Linked DNA regions of Homo sapiens: all the other regions are linked to region 3. Evidence: promoter capture Hi-C in 16 types of primary human blood cells and fetal thymus (Javierre and others, 2016). All regions are on one chromosome and are shown on one strand. The core of a region is centred on a gene start or on the middle of the fragment in contact, and the rest is flanking DNA. Distances in the headings are between cores, read along the strand shown. Region 1 overlaps LINC02066 (long intergenic non-protein coding RNA 2066). Region 2 overlaps IGSF10 (immunoglobulin superfamily member 10). Region 3 holds the start of SUCNR1 (succinate receptor 1). Region 4 overlaps MED12L (mediator complex subunit 12L). Region 5 overlaps MED12L (mediator complex subunit 12L). Region 6 holds the start of IGSF10 (immunoglobulin superfamily member 10). Region 7 overlaps MED12L (mediator complex subunit 12L).

What was found. Contacts are between HindIII fragments. The CHiCAGO score rates a contact against its expected background, and 5 or more counts as called.
Region 1: a fragment that was not itself captured here is called in contact with the fragment with the promoter of SUCNR1 in region 3 in 1 of 17 cell types (monocytes); the score reaches 6.5 in monocytes.
Region 2: a contact is called between a fragment that was not itself captured here and the fragment with the promoter of SUCNR1 in region 3, in 1 of 17 cell types (M2 macrophages). The highest score is 5.2, in M2 macrophages.
Region 4: a fragment that was not itself captured here is called in contact with the fragment with the promoter of SUCNR1 in region 3 in 2 of 17 cell types (M2 macrophages and monocytes); the score reaches 6.2 in M2 macrophages.
Region 5: a contact is called between a fragment that was not itself captured here and the fragment with the promoter of SUCNR1 in region 3, in 2 of 17 cell types (M2 macrophages and monocytes). The highest score is 6.8, in M2 macrophages.
Region 6: a contact is called between a fragment that was not itself captured here and the fragment with the promoter of SUCNR1 in region 3, in 2 of 17 cell types (endothelial precursors and megakaryocytes). The highest score is 5.8, in endothelial precursors.
Region 7: a contact is called between a fragment that was not itself captured here and the fragment with the promoter of SUCNR1 in region 3, in 1 of 17 cell types (neutrophils). The highest score is 6.0, in neutrophils.

Annotation. Positions count from the first base shown.
Region 1 is chr3:151,555,761-151,558,928 of GRCh38, reverse strand. All of the region lies in intron 1 of LINC02066 (long intergenic non-protein coding RNA 2066), which reads right to left. It also overlaps a transcript of IGSF10 not described here. Among named protein-coding and RNA genes, the nearest start is that of LINC02066, 5.2 kb to the right of the region's middle. The HindIII fragment of the contact is 1,066 bases long and covers 1,107-2,172 here.
Region 2 is chr3:151,441,297-151,444,371 of GRCh38, reverse strand. IGSF10 (immunoglobulin superfamily member 10) reads left to right here. Exons shown (of 8, transcript NM_178822.5): 7 at 488-1,388. Among named protein-coding and RNA genes, the nearest start is that of IGSF10, 18 kb to the left of the region's middle. The HindIII fragment of the contact is 9,167 bases long and covers 1-3,075 here.
Region 3 is chr3:151,872,244-151,875,517 of GRCh38, reverse strand. SUCNR1 (succinate receptor 1) reads right to left here and starts at 1,875. Exons shown (of 3, transcript NM_033050.6): 1 at 1,812-1,875. The region is part of intron 1 of AADACL2-AS1 (AADACL2 antisense RNA 1); the gene reads left to right. The HindIII fragment of the contact is 8,098 bases long and covers 1-3,274 here.
Region 4 is chr3:151,388,398-151,391,570 of GRCh38, reverse strand. MED12L (mediator complex subunit 12L) reads right to left here. Exons shown (of 45, transcript NM_001393769.1): 38 at 1,436-1,592. Among named protein-coding and RNA genes, the nearest start is that of P2RY12, 5.2 kb to the right of the region's middle. The HindIII fragment of the contact is 3,347 bases long and covers 1-3,173 here.
Region 5 is chr3:151,371,554-151,375,015 of GRCh38, reverse strand. It overlaps MED12L (mediator complex subunit 12L), which reads right to left. Exons shown (of 45, transcript NM_001393769.1): 27 at 2,250-2,449. All of the region lies in intron 1 of P2RY12 (purinergic receptor P2Y12), which reads left to right. Among named protein-coding and RNA genes, the nearest start is that of P2RY12, 11 kb to the left of the region's middle. The HindIII fragment of the contact is 7,321 bases long and covers 1-3,462 here.
Region 6 is chr3:151,459,065-151,462,419 of GRCh38, reverse strand. IGSF10 (immunoglobulin superfamily member 10) reads left to right here and starts at 1,359. Exons shown (of 8, transcript NM_178822.5): 1 at 1,359-1,474; 2 at 2,073-2,159. The HindIII fragment of the contact is 2,173 bases long and covers 212-2,384 here.
Region 7 is chr3:151,415,030-151,418,185 of GRCh38, reverse strand. MED12L (mediator complex subunit 12L) reads right to left here. Exons shown (of 45, transcript NM_001393769.1): 43 at 1,764-1,874. Among named protein-coding and RNA genes, the nearest start is that of P2RY12, 32 kb to the right of the region's middle. The HindIII fragment of the contact is 4,689 bases long and covers 1-3,156 here.

The DNA of each region.
Region 1 (3,168 bases), core at 390-2,889, 320 kb after region 3:
TTACTAGGTGGAAACATGTGACTGTATATGAAGATTGTGCATGAAAAATGGAATCTATCCACTAGAATTCTCCAAAACTCCTCCTAACAGACTCATTCTGGCTCAAAAATGAAATCACATGTACCATGAGTCAAAAGGTGACCCCTCCAGAGATGACAAATCTGAGTTCTGCCATACTATGCCAAACATTTTCATTGGCAAGCTCTGGGATTTCAGTGTGTGACCTCCTTAGGCCAACTTCTGCATCAAGTAGTAGGAAAAATATGTATTCACTATAGTCCCAGCTACTCGGGAGGCTGAGGCAGGAGAATCACTTGAATCTGGGAGGCTGAGGTTGCAGTGAGCTGAGATCACGCCACTGCACTCCAGCCTGGCAACAGAGCAAGACTCGGTCTCAAAAAAAAAAAAATGTATTCATGGGGCATACTTCTGAAGTCATGTGACAGCAATTATTAAACCCCAATAGTATAGCAAGAGTATGTGCTTGGCAGTGTCTTGAATGGGCATGACCTACATTTGTGGTCTTTCATTCCATTTATTCCCATCAAGCCTGGGTAATTTCTGTGATAGTAAAGCCAACCTGAAGCGAGAGTGTGACTAGAATTAACCCGAAGAACTTGGCAATTGCATCTTCTAAATCTACCTGACTTATTCTGCTCAGTGAAATGGAAATGATTTCTTTTTGTTGGGTTACTGTAACTGGACACTTAAGGCCTTTCTCATATCTCATGTCTTTTAAATGAAACTTTGCCAACTTTGGCTTCAGTGTTACACTCCTAAAATTCAGGAGGTGGAAACCTGTGACTGTACGTAAAGATTATACATGAAAAATAGAATCTATCCACTAGAATTCTCCAAAGCTCTTCCTAACAGAATCATTCTGACAAACATATTGTACCAATATATATATTATATATATATATTATATATACTTTATATTTGCTTTGCATCTGTTAAAATTGATTAAGCAGCAAGGCATGAAATACAGCTCACGGAGTTTTTTTAATAAGAAAGAAAAACTATACCCCAACTTGTGAAGATGTCTCTAAAATGTAGACAATATACTGAAGATGAGTTAACATTAAACTTAGGGGAAATGTTAAGCTTAGTAATAAACAAAGAGATCATTTGTAGCAAATAACGATCCCAGACTAGGAGAGTGCCACTATTTGCACACAGGGAAACTAAGCAGTCCACTCACTCTTCTTGTATTAGAAGCAGAATCTCTTCTTTCCAGAGAGATTGGAAGTCTATCCACAAAGATACTAATGGAATCCTTAAAGCCAGCTAATGCTACTTTATCTTACATGCTAAGGATCTTGGGTCACTCACATAACTTGTTGGGGGCTCAGAAAACATCATTGCATAATATGCCCCTTTGTATGCAAACTGAGAGCATCTGGGAAGTAGCAAATGCAGGGAAGGGAAGGGCTTTTTCTGAGGCTCCTCCGTCTAACTAAAGGCCAGATCTTTCAGAAGATAGTCAACTTCTGTAAATTTCTTCCCCACATATTCTCATCAACTAAAGGAAATTGATGCATATCACAGGAAGGAAGACTGGAGTTGGCACCACACCAGAGGCCAGGAGAACTTTGTCCTGGACAACTGTCTGTTCTTCAGGCCCATTCACCTCTCTTAAATTTATTTACTCTTCCCCTAACATTGCCTACAGCTCTCCTATGAAGAGGAAGGGTGTTTGAGCTTCAACCATCTGGCCTTTGTTTGAGTCACATATTTTGTGTGACTCCCATGCACAAGTGCACATAATAAATATGTATAGCTTTTTTCCTGTTAACCTGTCTATTGTCAGTTTATTTCAGCAGACTCAGTTATTGAACCTTCAGAGGAAATGTTTGAACTTTCCAACAAACCTAAAACTCTCTTCATCCTCCTTCTCCCCTTACCGCACCTTTTGTTATTCTCCTTCATTCATACATTGAACAAATAAACATTTTCCTCACAAACCGAAATTCCCACTCTTCCTCTCCTTCTAAAAGACTTTACAACGATCATTTGTGTAAGATGACCAGAGAAATGGTTATCCAAACTGGCATGTTATAGACAGAACGAATGGTCAGCCAGACAGGATCCCAAGGCATTAAGCAATAAAACATGACTTCTATGAAAACAGGAACTTATCCTCCCTATGCACAACTACTTAACAATCAAGCTTCTCTACATCTTTAATCTGAAACTTACCTACCATTTCCCCTACCATCCTCTCAAAGGCTGGAGAGGAGATTGTGTCAGCATTCTTCTTACTCTCCAGTGCTATGTACTGAAATCTTTTTTCTTTGAAACACATTCCATGACTCTGTCTGCTCCTTTCTCTCTCTCTCTCTTCCTTACTCTCTTCTTTTCCCTTCTACTGTATTTCTTTAACAAATTTGGCTACTGTTTACTAAAGCTTCTTACATCTTGTTCAGTTTTTCTCTCCATTTTTTGCATGACTTCAATATGCAAGCAGAAAACCTGTTCCATAACATAACCTTTTCCTTAGCATAACTGGTCTGTTTCATCAAAACTCCCATGAGAGAGCAAGGGAAAGTGTGCTCATTGAGTGCATTCTTCAGCTTAGTTTTCCACAAAGAAAGTTATGATTCCAAAGACTTTCATACATTTTGGGTAGTCTCACATCGTTTTAGTCTGTGTTAGTGGTACTTTTACCCATGGAAGTCTCTAAATATTTTTTTGTAATTTTCCTGTGAATCTGATTAGCATACATGTCATTTGGCAAAATTCACACCACTGGCTACAGAAAAATAAAGATCAAGCTTTTAAAGAATGAAAGTTAGTTTTACTCAGAATTCTTACTGAGGACTAACCAGCGGGGCCTCTGTAGCCCTAGAGCAGTTCCGTCAGACTGCTGCAGCCCAGTATTTCATCCCACTGCTCATATACAAGTAGTGAGGGTTCAGTATGTGTGAAATCACATTAAACTTGCTCAGAAGTTACACTGAGGCAGAATCATATCAAGGTTTGAGTGTAAGAGCATATCTGGTTATAGATTACAGAGGCGTAATTACTAACCCCTTGAGATGTTTTTTATTTGCAGGGAAAGGCAAGGACTAGAGTCATTTATCTTTTAAGGAATATAGTGACACAGGCCAGAGACATGGGGGGCTGCGTGCTCTATCCTGTTTTGTGTTCAAAGCATTTCTGCAGAGA
Region 2 (3,075 bases), core at 165-2,664, 430 kb after region 3:
TGTGCCATTGCACTCCAGCCTGGGCAACAAGAGTGAAACTCTCTCAATAAAAATAAAATTAAATAAAATAATCCAGGAATAATTTTAGCAATCTGAAGACTAGATGTCCTAATTTTTTTTTTTTGGTCTGTCACCTAGGGTGGAGTGCAGTGGTACAATCATGTCTCCAGGGGCTCAAGCAATCCTCCTATCTGAACCACCTGAGTAGCTGGGACTACAAGTGCACACCACCATACCTAGCTAATATTTTATTTTTTGTTTGTAGAGACAGGGTCTCACTATGTTTCCAGGGCTGGTCTTGAACTCCTGGGCTTAAGTGATTCTCCCACCTCAGCCTCCCAAAGTGTTGGGATTATACAAGTGAGCCATAGGGCTGGGCTTTCATTTTAATTTAAATGTATTCTTAGTAGCCCAAAAAACGATAGCTTTATGTTTTCTAAATAAACTTTGATGACCCGTAGCAATAATTTTCTTTTTTTCTTCTCAGGACTTGATTTATCTAAGAGGAAACAGAATAGCAGGGTCCAGGTTCTCCCCAATGGTACCCTGTCCATCCAGAGGGTGGAAATTCAGGACCGCGGACAGTACTTGTGTTCCGCATCCAATCTGTTTGGCACAGACCACCTTCATGTCACCTTGTCTGTGGTTTCCTATCCTCCCAGGATCCTGGAGAGACGTACCAAAGAGATCACAGTTCATTCCGGAAGCACTGTGGAACTGAAGTGCAGAGCAGAAGGTAGGCCAAGCCCTACAGTTACCTGGATTCTTGCAAACCAAACAGTTGTCTCAGAATCATCCCAGGGAAGTAGGCAGGCTGTGGTGACGGTTGACGGAACATTGGTCCTCCACAATCTCAGTATTTATGACCGTGGCTTTTACAAATGTGTGGCCAGCAACCCAGGTGGCCAGGATTCACTGCTGGTTAAAATACAAGTCATTGCAGCACCACCTGTTATTCTAGAGCAAAGGAGGCAAGTCATTGTAGGCACTTGGGGTGAAAGTTTAAAACTGCCCTGTACTGCAAAAGGAACTCCTCAGCCCAGCGTTTACTGGGTCCTCTCTGATGGCACTGAAGTGAAACCATTACAGTTTACCAATTCCAAGTTGTTCTTATTTTCAAATGGGACTTTGTATATAAGAAACCTAGCCTCTTCAGACAGGGGCACTTATGAATGCATTGCTACCAGTTCCACTGGTTCGGAGCGAAGAGTAGTAATGCTTACAATGGAAGAGCGAGTGACCAGCCCCAGGATAGAAGCTGCATCCCAGAAAAGGACTGAAGTGAATTTTGGGGACAAATTACTACTGAACTGCTCAGCCACTGGGGAGCCCAAACCCCAAATAATGTGGAGGTTACCATCCAAGGCTGTGGTCGACCAGCAGCATAGGTAAGTCTATACCTTTGGGTTGGAATTATCTGCTTTATGTATTTAGCTGTACAACTTCTGAAATGGAAAAAGTGACACAGTGAGGCTAGCAGCAGTTTTAGAGTACACATAGACTTTGGACATAAAGGAAACTCTCTCAAAAAAAACTAATCTTTTGAGATCATTTGAATACAAAAACCATTCTTTTCACATGCTTAACTCAAAGGGTCAACTTCTTAGGGTTTTTATATTTTAGGCAGAATTAAAAAATCTCATTTATCTCCATACTTGGCACAGTTTTAAAATAGTAACTGTAGGACAGGCACGGTGGCTCACGCCTGTAATCCTAGCACTTTGGGAGGCCGAGACAGATGGATCACCTGAGGTCAGGAGTTCAGGACCAGCTCGGCCAACATGGTGAAACCCTATCTCTACTAAAAGTACAAAAAAAAAAAAATTAGCCGGGCATGGTGGCCGGGCGCCTGTAATCCCAGCTGCTTGGGAGGTTGAGGCAGGAGAATTGCTTGAACCTGGAAGGCAGAGGTTGCAGTGAACCGAGATTGCACCACTGCACTCCAGCCTAGGCAACAGAGTGAGACTTTGTCTCAAAAAAAAAAAAAAAAATAGTAATTGTATAAATATATTCACACTCTCTGTAAACAAAACAGAGAAGGGAATTTTTATGATGCAGTGGAGATTCTAGAGAGAGACACTCCGTTATTTTACTCGTCTGAGTCCCCTATTCGACATTTTAAACTTCATTATAATCAGTACTTAATTTTTTCTTTCCTAAAATTACAAAGCACTTTGTGAAAGTCACAATATTAAGACCTCCACCAAGTGAAACATATTCAGGGCCCCCGCATTCTGATGTGATGAGACACATATATACAAATACACACTTTCTCTGGTCTGTTATAGGCATATGAATATATATATTTTTTGAGACGGAGTCTCGCACTGTCGCCCAGGCTGGAGTGCAGTGGCAGGATCTCTGCTCACTGCAAGCTCCGCCTCCCAGGTTCACGCCATTCTCCTACCTCAGCCTCCTGAGTAGCTGGGACCACAGGCACCCGCCACCACATCCGACTAATTTTTTGTATTTTTAGTAGAGACGGAGTTTCACCATGTTAGCCAGGATGGTCTTGATCTCCTGACCTCGTGATCTGCCCGCCTTAGCCTCCCAAAGTGCTGGGATTACAGGCATGAGCCACCGTGCCTGGCCTCAATATTCATTTTATAGCTGGCTTTCTATATAAATTATATCTTCAAAAATCAATAATTATAGCTTATGAGGTTTTTTTTTGCAAGTGGCATGACTTTACACAATGGTTTTCCATTACAGGACAAAAAATGAGGATGAGAATTTCCATCTTATATATCTGTTTATTCATTAATAGAAAACATCCATGCAAAAAAATTACACATAGTAAATGTGAATTTGTACTCATGCTTAGGAGTTGAAGATTTTCTTCTAATGACACGAGTTGATACTGAATACAGCTAATAAATTTAACTTGTGATCTTTAGTTCAAAAGTAAATGTTAATTCTCAAGTTTTTCAAATGTCATCAAAAATCACCTAAATTAAATTGAAATTTGTTTAGATTTAGAATTTTTAAATGCTGAGTTATGAAATGTGAGTTTTGTGCTTTGGAGAGGCTGAAGATGCCTCTGCATTAATCTTTATTAAGAATTCTGTCTTCCAC
Region 3 (3,274 bases), core at 626-3,125:
CATTTTTTCTAAGTTCATAATTCTAATAGATTATGATTTTATAAATATGAGCTGTGCAATATTTGCAGACCAATTTAACTTCACTAGGATACAAAATTTTGAAGATACTATATTTCAAATTGGATATGTTTATAGTTGGGTATGTTTTTAGTGTGGCATCGCAATTCTATAAACATATGAAGTAAGTTGCTCCTTTAAGCAAAACTCCCAATTAAAGAGAAAATTCCCTCATGAAAAATTCATATTCTCTCTTCTGCTATCTAGTGGCTATATTCTTAATTTTTAGGAAATGGAAATAGTGATAAATAAATTGTAACTGATTTGGATGAATTATTTTGAATAGGTATTTTTTAAGAGCAGAAATTAAAGTGAAATCTTTAGTTTCCAGTCCAAAAATATATCTAAAACTGTTAGAATTATTGAACTAGAAGCAATATCTAATTTACTCACATAAGCAGACCAATAATACTTAACTTGAAAATGTTTTTTACTTTAAATATATTCAGCCTTTTGAAAATCTGCATTTTTGAAATTTACTTTAAAATATATATGTGATAGTTTCTTAGCTTTTTAATTGTTTGTTTTTATAGTCATCACAATTAAACAAATAACATTTGTAAAATGTTTACTTTTAAGTGCTACCTTAAGGCAAATTTACATGGTAACATGAGAATTTTTTTTAACAAATTACTTTTTTGATTACTAAATAATTTGAGCAAAAATATATATTCACACTGAAAAGATATAATAATTTAACATTTGTAACTTTATTTTTATGTATTCCATACATTACACCAGAAATTAAGGTATTAAAAAGTAATAGTATGGCACAAATTGTGTATTAACTTCTTTAAGAATACCACACACATTTTGAAAAGTTATGGAAGGTAGAATAGAAATGGTTTCTGCAATTTTTCATTTTTCCTAAGTAAATTAATTATTGGGTAATATCATTTTTACACACATAAATGTTAAATTTAATTTTTAGGATGCCTGAAAATTCCCCCAAATACATTATTTTCTAAACATAAAAATATTATGCCCCAGCACAGTGGCTCATGCCTGGAATCCCAACACTTGGAGAGGCCGAGATGAGTGGATCACCTGAGGTCAGGAGTTTGAGACCAACCTGACCAACATGGTGAAACTCCATCTCTACTAAAAAATCCAAAAAAAATAGCCGGGCGTGGTGGTGGGCGCTTGTAATCCTAGCTACTCTGCAGGCTGAGGCAGGAGAATTGCTTGAACCCCAGAGGCGGAGGTTGCAGTGAGCCAACACATGCTGTAAATGTGTCACTCTGGCACTCAGACACTCTAGCCTGGGTGACAAGAGTGAAACTCTGTCTTAAAAAAAAAAAAAAAAAAAAAAAATATATATATATATATATATATGTATGTATATGTGTGTGTGTGTGTGTGTGTGTGTGTGTGTGTATGTATCAAATACATGATTGTTTCAAATCATTTAGGAACTTTAATTTTTCCCCATAAGTAGTTATATTTATTTAGGTAAATCCAATTACTATTTTGTTGAAATATAAGTTGTTGAGATGTTAGCAAATATAATAAATCCTTTTACATAAAATAAAATTAGTATTTGACAACTAAAAGAAGACAGTTAATTTGTTGAAAAATAAACGTAGAGATAAAAATGACTTTTTTTTTTCAATTATTTTGCTGTTTTACATCTATTTATAAAGAATTAATTTAAACACTTAATACTGAAAACCTTAATTGCTCACAGGTCACCTTTAGAAGGAAATCTGGCCTTACTTTATACACTGAGAGGCACAATTTGCCATGTAGCTTACCATTCTGTTGGAAGACTTGATCCCTTGACAGGAACTCTGCCAGCAGCTGGATATAGCTTCTGACCCAGTGTTGTGCCACTGGACATGGTTATTACAGTGTCCTATTTGCATATCCTATTTGCATATCCTGCAGCCAAGATTAATAATTCAAAAGCCCAGGAATAATTTATTCAGTCAAACCTCCCAGTCAGAGATGTTCATGCAGAGGAATTTTTGTGAGGCTTTTATTTTCACATTCACATTTATTTTATTTTCACATGCAGTTTTGCAATTGAATGACAAAAAACAAGTAACTCATTTCACAGGAAACACATTTACCAAATAGATTTTTAGAAAAACACTGTTGAACTTATTTTATCCACTACCAAAGCAACAGAGAAGCATTCCTTATTTTCATTTTATTTGCATATTTACACAATAAGAAGTGGTAAATACTGCTTATATTGGGAATACAGTTGCCTCTGCTTTTCTTCTTTTTTAAAATTAATTTTCTTAGTGAATTCTGTATTGAGAATATAATAACGAAACCTCTGTTTTCAATAACTTTGAGGGAACTATAAAACTGAAATTTTAAAGGGAAACCTGGATATATGCTATGTTGGTGTACTAGCAAAAAGATACTAGAGCTTCAAGTTATTTTCCATTTTATTTTCTGTGCTTAAAATCAAGAAACACATAAAAGATACATCAGATAGCTAGGGATTAGGGAGAGAGATGCTAAGTAAAATAACCTTAATAGATGGCAATTTATATATCCCAATCAATGCTCTGAAAAACATCTGGAAGTACATTACCACCATTTCAGACAGGAAGCACACCTGGCTTTTTCCAAGCATTATATTAGGTTTAGATTCAAGTAAACACTCAGTCTTCTTGATGTGAAGCATAGGGATTATACTAAGAAAGCCCATAATTGTGCAGGCAGCAGTAATTCAATTTAAATGCTATGTAAGTTGAATATTGAGTTAGCAATGACAGGCAGAAGCCCAAAAAGAAGCTCTGTTACAGGCATCCTCCTAACTAAGCATTTCTCCTCACCAATATCTGACAGCTTAAAAACTCAGGAACTCAAAATATATGTATGTATATATACACATACATATATACATACATATGTGTCTATATTACACACTTTATATACATGTGTAAAATATATTTATACATGTATGAATATTTATGTATACAAACATGTGCATTTACATGAAATAAAAATATCTATAATTTGTTGAGTTCTTGTGATGTGGCAGGCAGGTATTACACTAAGTACCTTTATGCATCAAATGCATATAGTAATCCTCTGAGGTTGTTATTATTTAAGATTTTTCTCATTTTGCAGATTAAAAAGCTAAGGTTCAGAGAGGTCAATTAACTTTCTCAAGATTGCAGAATCAATAACGGGAGGGACCAGAGCTTAAGCCTATGTACTTGGATTCTAAAAGCACCGACTCTGATTCTTGACTGCC
Region 4 (3,173 bases), core at 294-2,793, 480 kb after region 3:
ATTGTTTGTGTATTTTATGTGTGGCCCAAGACAATTCTTCTTCCAATGTGGCCCAAGGAAGCCAAAAGATTGGATGTGCTTGCAACAGAGAAACAGAAAAAAGAGAGAAACAGAGGGTACAGGGAAGGGGTATGGGTCTACAATTTAAAACAGGTTAGTAAAGGCCCCAGTGAGAAAGTAATGTGACCAAGCCCAACGGAGACAGGCAGGAAGTGATGTAGATATTTGAGGGAGAGCACTGCAGGCACAGGGGTCAGCAAGCACAAATGCCCTGAGCTAGGAATATGTGAAGATCACTTACTGAACATGTCTGTGGGGTCAGGCTACCTTCAAAAGGCTATATAACTATTACAATTTACTTTTAAATCTTACATATGTATGTGTGTGTAACATAAACTTTATTTCATCTTTTAAAAAGTAGGTATTTTGCACACTTTAGTCACTGCAATATCCTAGCATCCAAAACTGGGTCCACTGTATCATGAAGCTCAATACATTCTTGAATAAATAACTGAATCACCCACCCTATGGGAATAGGTATTAGCATATTCATTTTACAGATGACCAAAATGAGGCACAGAGAAATTAAGATTTGGCCAAGATTATACAGCAAGAGAGTGGTAGAACCAGATTTGAATCTAAAACGCTTAACTACCAGACCAGTTCCTTTAACCATTAATTTAGAGGACAAAATATGGATTTCCCCCTGCTATAAGCCATAAATGAAACATTTTCTTCCACAGACCTCAAAATGTCAAACTCAAGTTATAATAAAAATCACAATAGAAAAATTTAAAAAATTATTTGTTAAAATGGCACATCCTAACAATGCTGACAGATTTCAAATAATTTAAATATGCTAAAACATGCAATGTTTCATATAGAAAGAAAATTGAATTCATTTTTCATTAAGAGATGTTTTCATTTAGAAAATTTTCATTTGGGACGAGAAATCTACTTGGGCTTGAACCAAAGCAATACTAAAATCAGGAACATTTACTATGGTAGTTTTCCTTGTTGTTATCTAAATCTTGCTGAACCAATTTTCTTAGCTGTCATGATAATTCAGAACAATAAAAGACACTGTGCAATATTGTGTAATCTTTTAAAATGCCAATAAGAATTATATCTGATAAAAATACACACATTTTATAACATAAAACCGTTATCAACTTTTATATCTTACAGCTTAGATTTTCATCACTAGCTAATTTCCTTTTAACACTAAATAAAAGTTCCAAAATCAGTACATAAACTCGTAATTTAACCTATTTTAGAAAACAAAAAACATTTCTGTGTGAAGGGAATTACAGAAATGTCAACTGAGCACTCAGTGGTTGAAATGTCCAAGTTTTGTGGAGGTTTCAGGTTAAAAGCAAAGAGAACCACAAGCTGTTTCTCATCTCTGAGTGATCTGTGCTTTCTCATCACATACCTGGAGTAAGAGATTGGTTCTGAAGGAAAAAGCCGGGCTGCTGGGGCTGGCCCACGAGGTTGTAACCCCACAAGGTGGACTGTGGATGGTGCATCATTTGGGAGGAGATAGGCGAGTAATTAGGAGGCACTCGGTATATGTTGCTCTGTGGATATTCCTTCAACATAAAGTTTTTTAAAAAGTTACGTAACTCCACATATCACACAGCTAATTAATGCAAATAACTTCAGTAAGCTATCTGAGGTACCTCCTATCCCAATGTACAAAGCTGTTTTTTATAAAGGAGAAGATGGAAGGAAGAGTGCTAATAAATCCCCTGGAAATATTCATTTGAGGTAAACTTTTCCTTGACTTAAACAGTGCTTGGCTTGCAGTGGGCAGAGATGGAAAAGGATCTCTTCTGAATTCTATTTCAAAAGACTACAAGTGTGTCAGGAATACCAATACTGAACGACACTCATCACTGAAAAAGCACCTTCAGTTGCTAAGACTCATGATCATTTCATCTTAGAAGGCCTTTCCAATATCTTGGGTCTGGAGAATTACGCCAGAGAGCCCTACAGTGCTTCAGAACCACTCTTTGGCCAAGATGGTATTTCACTTGCAATTTTCCAGACATCGTTCTAAAGAAGTAGACACTCCCCTCATCCCCCATGCTTCCTCTTCCTTATAGTAGCTGCAAAGCCTGTAAGGATCACACCTGAAGGTCTCAATTTCCCTACCTTCCCTCATCTAGTCTAGCCCTAGAGGATGGAAGAGAAACAAAATCTCATTTCCCTGCAATTTTACTGAAGAGCATATCTCATTGAAAAGAGGGAGCTTCAGGAAGAATAGAGGAAGAGGGGACATGACCAGACTGACCTGGGGAGCAGGATTGGTTTCAGGGCTTTTTCATCAGAAAAGAACAAAAGCCCATCCACGTGGACTGACAGGCTGGAAACCCCAAATTTGAGGGAGTGTCAGTCTGGACCATTTTAAACTTCCCTTCAAGACAAAGGAATACTGGTAGGAAGACTGAATGAGAAGGGGGCACTGATGCTCAAGTGGCATCCTAAAGTGGTGGTGGTCATTTCTAAAATAGTATTAATCACCAAGCTATCAGCTAGGAAAAGATGTATTTTAGTTCTCACATAGGTAAACAATAACCAATCATGAATATCTGAATGAAATGGTGAATATTTCTTCCACTGTGCAGCAAGAATGCTGTGGAATTTCATTAAAAATGTCTCAAATCCTCTATCAAATATTTTCCAGGTTTTAATTTAATTTAAATAGAAAAACATTTTATGCATTACTTCTCAAGGTTTATAAAATTATTTCTAAATCACCATCAAATAGATTTCTGTTGTAATGAAAAGATTATTATACGTGGGGAACACTAATAGAGAAACAAGAAGTAAAACTATTTTAAATTAGGCTTATTTTCATCTTTTATAAAGTCTGAAAACATGGTAAAGAAGGAAAATATATGAGGGTAAGATGGAATAGTAAAACATAAAATCTCAGGAACATCCTATTGGCTATGCTAACTCCAAGTTTTATCAAAGAAAAACCAAATAGAGCTTTTTATGTTAATTTACTGAAGATATCAACCACTTAAAATACAATAAATATTTTAGACATATTAAAAATATGTGAGAGAATGGGATTGTATAGTTCTAAAAATTTCAAGTTTCAAACCCGAGGAAATTAGGAGGCACTGAAATATTAATTAAATATTACAATGGAAGCCTACAAT
Region 5 (3,462 bases), core at 537-3,036, 500 kb after region 3:
AAAATACAAAAACATGACCCAGTCGGTATGACACCTATAGCAAAGTACAAAATAATATATAAGGTATGTCACTTTTTTTTTATAAGAGAACTTTTAAAACAAATATATGGGAGGGAGAATAAACCAAAAAATAATAAAACTGGATCATCTGGTAAGAGGGATATGGGAGGGAGACACATCTCTGAGTATACTTTTTTGTATAGTTTCACTTTTGAAAGTAAGCTATTCTATAGCCAGAGCTGGGGACAAGAAAGGAATTTAAATAATGCAAAACCAAATGAACCTAGTTCTATTTCACATAAAGAATACACTCATAGGGATGGGAAAAGTTCAAATAATTTTTGAACACAGTATTTTAAACCCTTAGAGAAAATGGAATTGCAAACAAATCTTCAAAGCCTTTTAGGTAGGTTTGTTCTTCCTAGTGGTATGTGTGTAACATTTCTTTCTTTCTTTCTTTCTTTCTTTGAGACAGAGTCTTGCTCTCTTACCAGGGCTGGAGTGCAGTGGCGCAATCTCGGCTCACTGCAACCTCCGCCTCCCAGTTTCAAGCGATTCTCATGCCTCAGCCTCCCAAGTAGCTGGGATGACAGGCATGTGCCACCACACCTGGCTAATTTTTGTATTTTTAGTAGAGATGGGGTTTCACCATGTTGGCCAGGCTGGTCTCAAACTCCTGGCCTCAAGTGATCCACCTGCCTCAGCCTCCCAAAGTGCTGGGATTACAGGCTTGAGCCGCTGCGCCCTAGCCTAGTGTACATTTTTGATACTGTATTTTAATTAATCATTTTTTGACAAAGCGCTGGATAGCACATTTAACATGCCCGGCCATGTGTAACATTTTAAAACTATTTCAGATGTATCATAGAATTAAACAAACAAGTAAATTGACGTTTTTGGGAATCAGCATTCTTACTAGGGAAGAAGGTGATACTAATATGAATTAGGGGAAAACACAGAACAACTTTGTGGGGTTGGATTGGAATTGAAGGTATCAGTAGGACCTCATAAATATATATATTTACATATATTTAAGTGTATGGATATATTTTTCTTTCTAGCTTTGTCTGCAGACAGGTCGTAGAATTAATGATACTCCATAACCATGAGCATACATAATACCCAGATCTTGGTTTCTCAGTAACGTTCTCTGCTAAATAGAACCAAGGGCTCCTTGGAGGAATAGTTGATTCCAGGCCCGGGGCAGAGAAAGTACAACATGGGCCAGAAACTATGAAAATACCAACTATTTTTAAAATGTCAAATGATGTGATAGGATGAATAGATTCCTACTGCACAAATCTGGGACAGTCTGAACATGAAAATAACTAAGTACAGTATATTATAACCCATATGGATAATAAATAAACAGGGGAGAGGAGGGCAGGCTCTTCCTTAAAATAGGACACAAACTGATATTATGAAGGGAGAGGAGAAGTTGGGGAAAAAAAAAAACCACCATTTTGCAACCATCATAGTAAAGACTAGACTGGGCAAGAATGAAAATGAATGCTTATGAGGGGTGGGGGAGTTAAACAAGGAGAAGAAAATTTGCACTGTCTCGAAGTATCTCCTCAAAGATTGCTTACTGCAAGGGGAAAATTAGTAACTACACAGTCCCCACTGTATAGTTACTAATCTTGAAACTATACAATGGAAACATCTTAATCAAAATTAACATCACCCTTGAGGTGCAAATGGACATCACATGCCTTCAGACATGATTACCTGAAAGAACTCAAGATTATTTCTGTAGTATCTTGGCCAGGGATGCATAATCTGAAGCTAATCTACAGGAAACCTCAGACAAATCCAACAATACTGGGACAATTAATAAAATCGAACTGTGGCCTATAGATGAGAAAAAATTACTGTACCAAAAGCTAAATTTTCTGATGTTTAATAGCTATATTTTGGTTATGTTATGAAATAATGCAATATTCAAAAGAATAAAATATACAATCTACTCTTAAATGATTCAGAAAAAATAGGTATATGCACCCACATCTCCACATACAAATTACAAAGCACATGTAGCAAAATGTAAAAATTAGTAAATCCGTGTAAAGGATGGACATGAGTTTTTTAAAAATAATTCTTGCAACTTTTCAGCAAACTTAAAATTATTTCGAAATAAAGTGAGCAAGAAAAAAAGGCCCACCTATGCACAAGTTTCCTATAAGTGTAAGTAGCTCTCTCCAAAAGAAGAGTTACGTACTCAAAGTAAAAGGCAAATTAAATTAGAATACCTGTTGACAGATAGTCCTCAGTACATATCTAGCGTATTCTCTTAAATTGGCAGTTTCTATGGAAATGCTTTTCCCACAGGATTTTGGATTTTGTGAGGCAGTCCAGATATCATCAGCATTCCCATCACATCGCAAACCTCTCATGGTGAAGTCATCATTCTTTAAAGAGCTGACACTGTTATTGCCAATTTTGGCATCTCCTAAGTAATAGAATCACAAAAGCAAAATCACAGAAGTTCAAAATATTGCCAAATAATTGAGGAGCAAATGAGGATAGCATTCAGGGATTTAAAATATATGAACAGTATTATTATTGAATAGCCAGTTGTTCAGGAATAGAGAGAATGGATCAAGAGCATAAATGCATGAACCCAGAGAAGTTTCTAACAGAAATGGAGAAAAAGCAAGTTCAAGACTCGGTCCTTATTTTGTTTGTATAATTATAGTTTCACCAAACTTGGAAAGGCCATTATGAATCACACTAAGTAATCAGAGAACATTGGTTTCACCAATATTTCAAGCATGAATGTATTCAAATTCATTTGACTTATAGACAAGGAAAAAATGGGTTACTCACCCTTCTAGATGTCCCTTTTCCATTTCTTCTCTTACAATGACTTATTTTCTATCCATAGGTCAAGAGAAAAGTTTTGCCTTAGCCCACCTTACTATCAACTTCTTGACAAGAGAGATTTATTTCCCTGGGAATGGAAAAGGGCAATGCATACTAAGGAAGCCCTGAAAAGTAGGGCATTCATTGAATAACCCCTGTTTTTTTACCTTCCTCTCTGTAACATACAAATTAGAAAACCTTACCTGATAAATCTTTAGTATACTTAGTGAAATGAAGCTAAGGAAAGTGTTTTCTTCATAACAAAGTTCTGGGAAAGAAACTAAACAGAATGTCTGAATAGCTAGAAATAAGAAAACTCTAGCCATGAGAGACAAATAACTATCATATTTTAAAAGTGAGAGAGTAATAAAAATTCAAAATAAGGATTGCCAAATGACAGCACAGCCTTCAAACTTTTGCCTTTTACTCACAGGATCATAGGCCTTGACAAGAAAATTTCCTGGAACCAACAAATGCTTTTACAGTAGGCCTTCACTGCTTGCAGCAAGTGGGCAAAACAATGCCCAAGTTAATGGAAAAAGCCTTTTAAAACCCACAAGTCAACCAAGAAAAAGTTTTGACTTTGCTGAAAAAAATGGC
Region 6 (3,355 bases), core at 49-2,548, 410 kb after region 3:
CACATTGTAGCTGCATCAGAATCATATGGAAGGCTTGTTAACACATGGACTCCTAAGCCTCCTTCGTACAGTTTCTGAATCAGTGGGTCTGGGATGGATCCCGCAAATTTTTGATCTTAACGAAGTCCAAAGTAATGCTGATGCTGGACCCGTGACCCTATCTTGAGATCCACTGCCCTAAAACATTCATTGCAAATTGTCATCAAAAGCTTAAGTGCTATGTAACTACGTGGAAGGAAACAAGGTCATTTTAGTTATGTTAACTCAGTGTTTATGAGTATTGGGAGCCCCACCAAGAATTGCAGGAGATATTACATGTGGGCAAGTTGGTAGAGGTGATTCTGGAGGCATCTCTGCCTCCAGATGGTAGGGTTGGAGATGAGAAAGGAGAATGTAATCCAAGCAGAAATAGTAGTATTTAAATCCGGTTCTGTGATAATGATTTAAAAGAATTCCTCTGAGACATCTATATACGATGTAATATTGTTTGGCAGTTAAAAAACAAAAGGGAAATATTGCCATTTGTCACACATGGATGAACCTGGAGGACATTATGCCAAGTGAAATAAGCCAGAAACCAAAAGAAAAATAGTGTATGATCTCACTTATATATGTGAAATCTTTTTCTAAAAGGTCGATTATACAGAGATAGAGAATTAAATAGTGGTTATAGGGGTTGGAGAAAGGAAATGGAAAAATGTAGATCAGAGAATACACAGTAGCATACATTTATATAGATCTAATGTGCAAGAGGACTATAGTTAATAAAATTGTATGGTATTTGGGATTCTTGCTAAAAGAGTAGATTTTAGCTGCTCGTGTCACAAAAACAAAAATGGGGTAACTATGTGAGATGATGGATATGTTGTTTCACTATAGTAACCATTTTACTATCTGTATATAGCCCATAACATGTTGTATACCTTAAATATACGCAATATAATTTACTTATTTTTAAAAGAGGGGTTTAAATAAAACATTGACACTGCAGGTATCACAGGTCATTAACGCTAACTTAGCCTTCAAATAGAACTTTGGGAGCCACAGGACCAAGGACAGCCTGCGGCGATTTACGTAAACCCTTAAACCAAAAGGCCCACCTGTCAACAGGTGGAAGAGGTCAAGGAGGAAATGAACGGGCGGCCACTGAAACTGCTCTGCCACCCAGCCAGGACCTGCCAACTTGCTAGGAGAAAGCCCTGGGAATTTAAAGAGTGAAGCCACGGCGAATTAGCTTCCCACACGCTCGTAAACATAAAGAGGGGCCCGGTGGTCGTTTCTCATCCTTGTGCTGCTGAGCCCCGGCCGCGTCCCCAGACACAGAAGTCGGGCTCATCCCCCGCCCTCGCTCCGCCTTCCTTCCTTCCCTCCCAGAGCTCCGGACCAGCTCCGCACGACCCCAGCAGCTGAGCCCGGGACCGAGCCCGGGACCTAGCCCGGGCAGCTCGAGCCCATTGGTCACCAGGGCAAACAGGTGAGCGCCTCGGCCAATCCTTCCCCGGAAAGGGCTGGAACCCCACGCCGGCTGGGGCTTGGCGTGGGAATGGAGCGAGTACCGTGGCTGCAGAAGCGGGCGCTGGGGCGGGGAGGGCTGAGGGTGGGGGAGGGAAGACGCACCCGGAGAAGGTGGGGGCATGAAAGCACACGACAATTCTTCGGTGACTGGTGCCAGGCAAAAAAAAAAAACACACACTGAGGAAAGACAATCAATAGATGGAGACATCTGTGACAGATTTGTCCAAAAAAGACAATTTGAGGAGAAGCTCTTGGGACTTTGGAGCAAAATGGAGTGATTAGTAGTAGTTAATATTCAAGTGATAACTTTAAGGAGTATTAAGTACACTACTGAGGGAGGAGAAAGGAAATTTAAAAACCTCCACTTAGCCTTTTGTTTCTGCAACAGCAAGCATCATAATAAAAGAACGCTTCTGGGTTAATGTGGTTATGAGTTATAGAACTTTGAAGCTGTGGAAGCGGCTCCAGGTCTCCCTGAAGAGCATTACTCCTGGCTGTAAGCCAAAAAGAATAAGGCTTTTTGCTCACTTTGGAGCAGAGAACTTTTCCTCCCTCAGGTTTGGACACAATTTTCCATTTCCTGGGAAGATTTTCTGTCTCTGCCTATGTCACAAGAGGACTCAGGACCTGAAAGAAGAGCTCAGGTATTGCCAATTCCTATTTCATTATGTACATTTTCAGCCTTACGTTTGTGAGAATCCCTTATTCATGTGTTGTCTTATGCTATTGATCCTCTTTTAAATAATTTGAACGTGGGCATACCCAGAACTTTTATTTAAGCTGAACGAGAGAATTACCTTCATCCTGCTGTTCCTTCCTTTGTTTATCTAATGATAAGGTGGAAATGCTGTCTCCAATCATACAAAGCTTATTTAAAATTATTGTAACCAGGTGGTTACGATGGCAAAAGTGGTCATATGATTAATCCTATCTTAAATTTTAATTTGGACTAAATTATAATAATACATCCATCATCTTTTTATCTGTATGAAAATCCAAGCAGTTCAGCCCCAGTGTTATTTCTCAGTGTAGTTTGTAGCTAAAGGGTGGTTGCTGGTGGAATCCAACATCATGCTGTTCCACAGAACGGTGGGATTTATTACAAATTATGAAGGTCATTTTGCTTGGAAAAGCACAATAAAGAGTTTATTTCAATCCTGCATTTCAGGAGAGAATTAGGTTTGAATTCCTGGGCTTGCCCCACATATGGGTAACAGATACCATTTTTTTTTTTCTGACAAGCTGAGCATATTTCTTCCCTGGTTATGCTCCCCACCTCCTGTGGCAGCCATGAGCTGGAGGAGGGACCAAGGAAAAAGGCAGAGAGATGTCCGAAGCTGAGCAAAAGCAGACAGCATCATGCCTGCACAGGGTCAGCATGGCTCAAGCCCTCTCAGCTGGTCAGTCGCTGTTGCTTATGGTCATTACTTGGCAGTGAAGTGTTCAATGTGTCTTTTTTTTTGGCAGGGACTTGAAAACCGGTTAGAAAGAGATTTATTCTCCCTTCCAGTGGATTATTACAACCTTTAAAAAATGTTTCTGAAGAAGGTTTAATAAAATGAAAAAACATTATATATGAAATGATAAAATGTGTTACAAAATTGAGTTTGATCACATGTACACATATACACGTAAATGTATGTACACCTATACATATACACACAATAGATGAAAAAGGCTGGAAAGGAATACAACAACATGTTTAAGGATTATATAAGTGGTGAGATTGAGTAATTTTTTTCCTTTTTACTGCTTAATTACAGTTTCCAAATGTTTTATTATGCACAGATATTACTGTTATAATCAGTTTCTTGAAAGTTACTCTAAAAGAATTAATGTA
Region 7 (3,156 bases), core at 354-2,853, 460 kb after region 3:
AGTAGGTGGGGGGAGTGAAAGAGAGAATAATAAAGCAAATGTGACAAAATGTTAAGAATTAGTAAATCTGGGTAAAGGGCTTATGGAAATTCTTTGTACTATTCTTGCAAATTTTCTGTCATTTGAAATTATTTCAAAACAAAAGGTGTATCTCGTTCTTGTACGGGACACTAGACTCAGCTAACAGTGGTGCATCCAAAGGAATCTCTTCTACAACATTTGCTAAGTAACAGCCAGTTCCTGCTAATACACATTGGATAGGTAGGCAGGCAGTGCAGTTTTACATACTACCTCTACTTTAAGAAGGTTTTCTGAAGTAGATTGCAGTAAATGTCACAAACATATATATATTTTTAAATCAGAGCTGGAAAAACTAGATCCATAATTAAAAAGAATTAACTTAAAAATGGGGAATAGGCCGGGCACAGTGGCTCACGCCTGTAATCCCAGCATTTTGGGAGGCCAAAGTGGGTGGATCACCTGAGGTCATGAGGTCAAGACCACAGTCTGGCCAACATGGTGAAATACAAAATTTAGCTGGGTGTGGTGGCAGGTGCCTGTAATCCCAGCTACTTGGGAGGCTGAGGCAGGAGAATTGCTTGAACCTGGGAGGAGGAGGTTGCAGTGAGCTGAGATCGCACTGCACTCCAGCTTGAGTGATCGAGTGAGATTCCGTCTCAAAAAAAAAAAAAAAAAAAGGCGGGGGGGGAGCTGGGGGAGCGGAACAAACTGGCTTACGCAGAGTTTGTTAAATGTACTATGGATGCCCTATTCCAGTTGACCATGTTCTGGTCAATCTGATTTGGACGCAGTTCTTTAACCACCTAACTCTACTCTGATCCCTCCACATGTACTATCTCTATACCACGTTGTTCCCCCTTTTCTACAAGTTGTGAAACCAGCTAGTTTAAAAATCCTGTGCTGAAGGCAGTCTACACTAGTGTTTCTCAAAGTGTGAGACATGAGCGGTCAGCCAGCTCATCGTAGGTAGGGCTCATTCATGCAATTCACATCACTCAGTTAAATGGAGATTCCCTTCTAAATTATTTTTGTATTTACTTTCACAGATATTTCCAATATGTGGCAAGTGATATAATTATGGATGGTAATGATAAAATGCTTCTTTGAAAACTACATTTATTTAAGCAAATATAATAAGATGACAGTTTAAAAAAAAGTAATTAATGAAACAGGAATATGGCTGTTGTAAATGACTGAGGTTTAGAAAACTTTGATGGCTATGCATATGACATTTCCAAATTTGATTTATGAAGCTAGAGAAGTGAACTATCCGACTGTGAGTTACATGAAAACTCTTGCAGCAAGTGCTAACTGAATGAAAAACAATTTCTTATTGAAGATAATAGATAATATTTTAGAAAGTGCGCCCATGGTTTTTGAGATTATAGTAAAAATCAAAGTATGGTAAGACACTCTTTTAAACATACATAGTAAATCATCGTTTTATCATTGTTTAGGAAAAAAAGACCACGTCTCAATGTAAAAAATTTTGTCTGTGGAACAGTCCGAAAAATTTTGAAGAATAATGGTATAACCTACTGAATCCCAAATATTTACTTGTATCTTCCTATGAAAATAAATATACCAACTACAATGACAATAAAACTCTAGTAAAGTTCTAGGAAAAATTTTTAGGGTATACTTAGGCTTTGTCGATTCTTAACAATCTTATGAACATGAACAATGCAACCTGCTTTTAAAGAAGAAACCCACATGTCTGATTCCAAAACAACAGGCCTTACCAAGGGCTGCTGGGGCTGCATTGCTTGGAGACCAAGGGTCTGACTCTGGGACTGCGAGGACTGCTGGGGCTGGGGAGGCTGCTGGGGCTGGGGCTGCTGGGGCTGCTGCATCTGGAAAGAGGGTAAAAATGTTATACACTTAAAAGGAAGAAGAAAACAGCATTGCTGAATCTGTTTCCCCCATATACCTTTTATCTAATTTTTATGTTGTAGTAAAAACAATATATACCTGCCTGCTGCATCTCTACCTTGCTGAACCTCATTCGTCCTTTTGAGGGCAAGACCTAAACCTGCTCATCCATGAAGCCTTCTAGGACCACCCCAACCCTACGGATCTCTTCCACTGGCAGTCAGTACTGCTGTCTATTCCACACTGCGCTGTCCGGGGCCATCCCTTCTGCTTACTGTTTTAATTCCTTTCATGTCCTTTGTCCTTCCGCATGTTTTATCCCTTCTTACACTACAGGTTGGACGGGGACTGCTCAGTAGTAATCCTCTCATTCTTTATGATATCTGGCAGAATTCTTAAAGGTTTTTTTTTGTTTTTTGTTTTTTTCCAAAAGGAAGAGGCAGACTAGTCGCCATGACACCTTCTGGCATAATTTACATCAGAAATTCAGAAATCATGTCAGTAACAGGGTTGGCTCAAACACACAGCTCTTGGAAAATGCTTCCAAGTCACAGAAAAAGCACAGACCAGACATCCACAAGGTGGGACACAGAGGAGAGAAAAATATTAATAGTTGTTTTGTTTTGTTTCAATGACCTTTAAAATTTCCTCCACCCAAACACTTCATCCTGATAATGATGACAGTCTAGACATTTCTTCATCTTTTGTACTTTTCCAACTTGGTTTGCATACTATCCCCTCAATTACTGGTCTGCTTTACAGCCAACTAATAAATAGCTATTGCCATATGGCATGTCTCACTAAGTGACAATGCTCATGGATCTGGAATCCTAGCAGAGGTCTGGGTAGCATGATCCCAACAAGAACAACGCAAGTTGGACCCAAATCACAATGACTGCAATATGATTCTCCAGTTAGCCCTCTAGAACCTCTTCTAAGAAAAATTAACCCAACTTCATCATTATTAACTTTTTCCTTTACAGAGGTGGCCAGTCACCAAAAAAGAAGTATAATCCTGTTGTAGAAGCAAATCACTTATCTCCAGGGAAGAATGTGTTGATGATGAAAAAATTACCAGAAGGACATATTATGCTAATTAGGATAAAAAGTACATATGGTCTAATAAGAAAAGGCTTTCCGTATTTGCAGCCTTGAAAAACACCAACATAAGATTTAAAACTGGTAAGTAAACAAATAATGTGGTAACTTTCCTCAGTGATTTGGAAATGAGAAATTCTAAACTAGAGCAAAATATAAATTATC